Regions from separate parts of the Homo sapiens genome. Here region 2 is linked to region 1. Evidence: promoter capture Hi-C in human tissues and cell types (Jung and others, 2019). All regions are on one chromosome and are shown on one strand. The core of a region is centred on a gene start or on the middle of the fragment in contact, and the rest is flanking DNA. Distances in the headings are between cores, read along the strand shown.

What was found. Contacts are between HindIII fragments. The study calls those that stand out against the background at their distance.
Region 2: the fragment with the promoter of TRMT112 here is called in contact with the fragment with the promoter of RPS6KA4 in region 1 in 5 of the 25 tissues and cell types used here (bladder, dorsolateral prefrontal cortex, pancreas and 2 more).

What each region holds. Positions count from the first base shown.
Region 1 is chr11:64,357,893-64,360,592 of GRCh38, forward strand. RPS6KA4 (ribosomal protein S6 kinase A4) reads left to right here and starts at 1,270. Exons shown (of 17, transcript NM_003942.3): 1 at 1,270-1,398; 2 at 1,486-1,557; 3 at 2,271-2,489; 4 at 2,585-2,700. The coding sequence starts at 1,344. RefSeq lists a silencer at 1,056-1,545 and enhancers at 1,295-1,822, 2,556-2,665. The HindIII fragment of the contact is 21,233 bases long and covers 1-2,700 here.
Region 2 is chr11:64,316,297-64,318,996 of GRCh38, forward strand. It overlaps TRMT112 (tRNA methyltransferase activator subunit 11-2), which reads right to left and starts at 1,263. Exons shown (of 4, transcript NM_016404.3): 1 at 1,153-1,263; 2 at 968-1,069; 3 at 762-851; 4 at 164-672. The coding sequence starts at 1,230. The coding sequence ends at 565. It overlaps ESRRA (estrogen related receptor alpha), which reads left to right. Exons shown (of 7, transcript NM_004451.5): 7 at 1-447. PRDX5 (peroxiredoxin 5) reads left to right here and starts at 1,825. Exons shown (of 6, transcript NM_012094.5): 1 at 1,825-2,090. The coding sequence starts at 1,920. RefSeq lists enhancers at 1-282, 1,440-1,639 and a silencer at 1,730-1,889. The HindIII fragment of the contact is 15,117 bases long and covers 1-2,700 here.

The DNA of each region.
Region 1 (2,700 bases), core at 20-2,519:
CCCCAGGGAGTTCTCAGCCTGGCGGGGCATCACTTAATGCCAGGGGTTGCCAGGAGAGGTGGGAGGGACGCTGGCTCTCTGACCAGGGCCTCTAGCCTGATGCCTGAGAGGCGGGGCAATTCGGCTGGGGTGCAGGATGTGAGTCAGGGTACCTGGGGCCACCCAGGGGAGGGTGGAGCTGCCCAGGGCTGAGATAAGGCAGCCTGAACTTGGGGGGTGCAGAGCTGGGAGGGACGGTCCGTCCGGCCTCCCAGGTGTGACCTGCAGCAGCTTGAGTTCCTCCTCCTCTCAGCCAGGGCTTCACAGGACAGGGGCGTGGGGTGGACACCCTGGCCTCTCCAGCTGGCAGAGGAGCTGAGAGCCCCTCCCACCGGCCTCAGGGTGTGGGGCCTCATGGCTGTCCCACTCTGCTAGGTGGCCCCATTGGTGGTCAGGAAGGGAAAGGCAGGAAGAAGACGGAGCAGGGGCTCAGGAGGACCAGTCAGCAGGGGCCCTGGGCCTCATGGGGAGAGGGGGCAGCCCCGTGTGGCACTGACATCTCTTCTTGAGGCCTGCTCAGGGCTCTAAGCTGGGTACTGCACCAGGCTAGGAGACAACAGGAGCAGAACACGTGAGGTGCGCATGGCACCTGGTGGGCTCTGCACGGTGACTGGGGGCTGAAGTGCTTCTGCAGGCACCCCCGACAGAAAGCTGGTCAGAAAACTGGCCACTCCTCTCCTTGCCATGGGGTCCCAGGCCGGGCTCCAGCCCCCTCTTGGTGATGAGGCTCCTCCTTGCAAAGGCCAGTCCTCTGGGGAGAGGGGCCCTGCTGGCCACCCCCAGGACGATGGAGTGGGGTGGGCTCCACTGCCTGAGAGTTGGGTGACTTCCAGGATCCAGACCCCCTCTCAGCCTGCCCAGCACCAGGCACCTCGTCCCCCACCTTGGGGCACAGACTCCTAATGTCCTCCAGCCACTGGCTGCAGCCGGCATTCCCGGGCAGATTCCTGGCTTGGGGACTAATGCCCCAGAGGCTCCAGGTTACCCACGGGCTCAGGGATGGCTCCCACGGGGTGTTTCCAGTTCCCGGGAGAGTCGAGTAAGGTCCCGGAGCGCACGGCCCTGAGGCCTGGCCTGGGGGCTCGGGAGACAGGGCGGCCCCAGCCGGCCGCCCACCGGCAGCCCGGCGCTGTCACGTTCCAGCCGCCTGACTCAGGCCGCGCAGGGCGGGGAGCCGGGAGGCGGTGCCGGCGCCCGCCTCGGCCCCGGAGGCGGCACCAGGAAGCGCCCGCCCCGGCCGGAGCCGCCATGTAACCGGCGCCGCCCGGAGCCCGAGCCGCGCGGGCCCCAGCGACCCGCCCGCCATGGGGGACGAGGACGACGATGAGAGCTGCGCCGTGGAGCTGCGGATCACAGAAGGTGGGTGTGGGGCCTGACTGCGGCTGCCCGGGGCAGGCCGGGACGGGTCATGGACCGGCTGGGCTCATTCGCCCCCTGTGCCCACAGCCAACCTGACCGGGCACGAGGAGAAGGTGAGCGTGGAGAACTTCGAGCTGCTCAAGGTGCTGGGCACGGGAGGTGAGGACCCCCATCCACCGGGCAGGCGTCCCAGGCGCGGTGCCCCTGACCTCCTGCCTGCTCACTCTTGGGCCTGGGCCAGGCCACTGAGCAGGCCCCCCACCCTTTCCCGGCACAGCCTGCCTTGCCTGCCCCGCCCTGCCTCGCCAGAGTTTGCATGCCCACTTCCAGGGCACTCCACATTGACATCACTCCTCCCTCCACGGTCCTGTGCGTGCATACCCCCCTGGATTTGCCAACACCCTGGGGAGGGGGACTGGCGCCCCTCTCAAGTGATTTGCATAGCTCCTCCCTTTCTTCCAATATGGGATCCCCCTCCCACATTTTGCAAATGCCCCAGCGCTGGTTTGCGCATCCCTTCCCCAGCCAGGTGCACACCTCTGCCTCCCTTCCTTGCACTGGCATCTTTTCACATCCATCTGATCTCTCGCAGGTTTGCATATGCCCCGCCCCCATGCCTCGCAGCAGGCCCCCTGGAGATGCATGCTCCCCAGCCTGGTTTGCACATCCTTTCCCTGGTTTTGCTGGGCACCCTCCCGGGGTGTGCACACCCTTTCCTTAGAAGGCTCTGCCAGCTTTTTGCACACCTGCCTGTTGCCCCAGCTCCTTCGCCTCATTTGCACACCCTCCTGGGTTGGCATCGCCCCCACCCCCCAAGCCTGCACCAATCTCCCGCTCACAGCCCACCCTCCACCCACTCGCTGCTCCCACAGCCTACGGCAAGGTGTTCCTGGTGCGGAAGGCGGGCGGGCACGACGCGGGGAAGCTGTACGCCATGAAGGTGCTGCGCAAGGCGGCGCTGGTGCAGCGCGCCAAGACGCAAGAGCACACGCGCACCGAGCGCTCGGTGCTGGAGCTGGTGCGCCAGGCGCCCTTCCTGGTCACGCTGCACTACGCTTTCCAGACGGATGCCAAGCTGCACCTCATCCTGGGTGAGCGCACACCACATCCCAACGGGGTTGGGGTGGCTGGGGGCAGGCGAGGCCACCTGACGGGGCTGCTTCCTGACTTCCACTGCACCTCCCAGACTATGTGAGCGGCGGGGAGATGTTCACCCACCTCTACCAGCGCCAGTACTTCAAGGAGGCTGAGGTGCGCGTGTATGGGGGTGAGATCGTGCTGGCCCTGGAACACCTGCACAAG
Region 2 (2,700 bases), core at 13-2,512, 42 kb before region 1:
GGAGGCCAGAGTCTCCCAGTGGGTGATGCTTTTGCTGCTGCTTAATCCTACCCCCTCTTCAAAGCAGAGTGGGACTTGGAGAGCAAAGGCCCATGCCCCCTTCGCTCCTCCTCTCATCATTTGCATTGGGCATTAGTGTCCCCCCTTGAAGCAATAACTCCAAGCAGACTCCAGCCCCTGGACCCCTGGGGTGGCCAGGGCTTCCCCATCAGCTCCCAACGAGCCTCCTCAGGGGGTAGGAGAGCACTGCCTCTATGCCCTGCAGAGCAATAACACTATATTTATTTTTGGGTTTGGCCAGGGAGGCGCAGGGACATGGGGCAAGCCAGGGCCCAGAGCCCTTGGCTGTACAGAGACTCTATTTTAATGTATATTTGCTGCAAAGAGAAACCGCTTTTGGTTTTAAACCTTTAATGAGAAAAAAATATATAATACCGAGCTCAAAAACACTGTGTTTGGTGTCATTGGGTCAAGGGTTGGGGATACACACGGCAGAATTCGGAAACAGGGTATAGATCAACAAAAATACACAGTCATAACAAGAAAAACTGGCGCCTGGCACAATCAACTCTCAGTTTCCTCTTCACTCAGCAGCATGTTGGGGATCCCGCGGCTGATGGGGAACATACGTCCAGATTCCGGGCACTGCAGGGTGCCCTCTATCACTTCCACCTGCGGGCAGGGAGGGACAGAGCTGAGCACTGGCAGCCTCAGTGCGGGAGGCAGGTGGCCCGGGAAGCAAGTGATGGGCCGCTTCTCACCTCCAGCAGCAGGTGGTGCATGGTCCTCAGAAACTCCTCATTCTCCTCATATCCCTCAACCGGCCCTTTCGGCACCTGGATCAGACGCAACTGTGGGCAAGAGGCCAAAATTATCTCCGGGCATCCCGAACTCCCGCCTCAGCCCGGCTGAGGTGTGCCCGCCCCGCATTCCCCGGGATATGCTGGGGCGGGGTAAGGATCCTCACGTTATCGGCCGCCTCCAGGAACGCCGACCACTCCACTTTAGGTATCATACGCGCCACGAAGTTGGGGTTGAATTCCACAGGGCAGATACGGACCTCGGTGGCCTGCAGGGCGGAGGAGTTTAGGCAAGCACTGGACCCCGGCCCACCATCCCGCCCGAAAAGGGAAGACTGCCGCCGGCGGGTACCTGGAGGCGCAGGGGGAAGCCACGGGACCCCACCCCCCGCACATGCGAGCTCAGCAGATTGTGGGTAAGCAGTTTCATGTCGCCGCACAAACTCTCGCCAGGCCGGAACCGGAAAAAGGTCGTCCTCCGCTGCCTCACTTCCGGGGATGCTCCTCTCGATGCTATTGGATAGCCAGGAGAACCGGAAGTGGCGAACTTGCTGGAACTTCTCGTGTTTGTGGGAGCTGAGGTAGGTAGGTGAAAGACCTGTCGGGTCACGCGCCGCTACCGGAAGCGTCTCAGCAGGAGGTTCCTACGGCGCACGCCCAGCTTTTTTTTGCCACAAATTCTTCGTAAGATGCAAATCATATGCAAAATAGCTGCAATGCAGGAGCTCTCGTTGAATGCAAAATAAACACATTTTACTCCTACACAGGCGCCTAACACCGTCGTCCTCTGTATCCCACTTTCGGTTAAGGGGCAGAAATACCGCCCTATCTGTAAATTAGGCCCATGGAAGCCGAGCCGCACCTCATTCCTATATGCAAATTAGCTGCTCCAGTGCCGAAAGCTCCGCCCCATTTGTAGTTGCGTCGGCTGTCCAGCACCCAGTGCAAACGAGGCGTGGGTCCCGGAAGCTCTGTTCTGCGGGTGGCCGCTCGCGCCTGCGCAGTGGAGGCGGCCCAGGCCCGCCTTCCGCAGGGTGTCGCCGCTGTGCCGCTAGCGGTGCCCCGCCTGCTGCGGTGGCACCAGCCAGGAGGCGGAGTGGAAGTGGCCGTGGGGCGGGTATGGGACTAGCTGGCGTGTGCGCCCTGAGACGCTCAGCGGGCTATATACTCGTCGGTGGGGCCGGCGGTCAGTCTGCGGCAGCGGCAGCAAGACGGTACAGTGAAGGAGAGTGGGCGTCTGGCGGGGTCCGCAGTTTCAGCAGAGCCGCTGCAGCCATGGCCCCAATCAAGGTGACCGCTGGCCCGGCCGGGCCTGACATCCCCCACTACCCCCATGGCAATCCCCGTCCCGCTAGTCTGAGAGTATCGCTTTATTTCCTGCCTGCCAGACCCCTCCCCTCCGCCCGCCCGGCTCATCCCTTCAGAAGGCCCTCGTGGCTGCCCACCTTTCTCGCCAATCGTGGGGGCCTCACCTCCCGGGACAGTCCCGAGGCATTGTGTTTTTTGTTTTTTGTTTTTTTTTGAGACGGAGTCTTTCTGTGTCGCCCAGGCTGGAGTGCAGTGACGCAATCTCTGCTCACTGCAGCCTCCGCCTCCCGGGTTCAAGCGATTCTACTGCCTCAGCCTCCTGAGTAGCTGGGACTACAGATGCGAGCCACCACGCCCAGCTATTGTATTTTTAGTAGAGACGGGATTTCACCCCGTTGTTCAGATTGGTCTCGAACTCCTGACCTCAGGTGAACCCCCCCCGCCCCCCCCCGCCTCGGCTTCCCGAAGTGCTAGGATTACAGGTGTGAGACACCACTCCCGGCCTGATTTCCCCTATCTTCTGAAACAGCTGTCCCTTAGCGCCCCCGCGGGGGCTTACCCCATCCCACTCCATGACCTCCCCTCCCCCCAT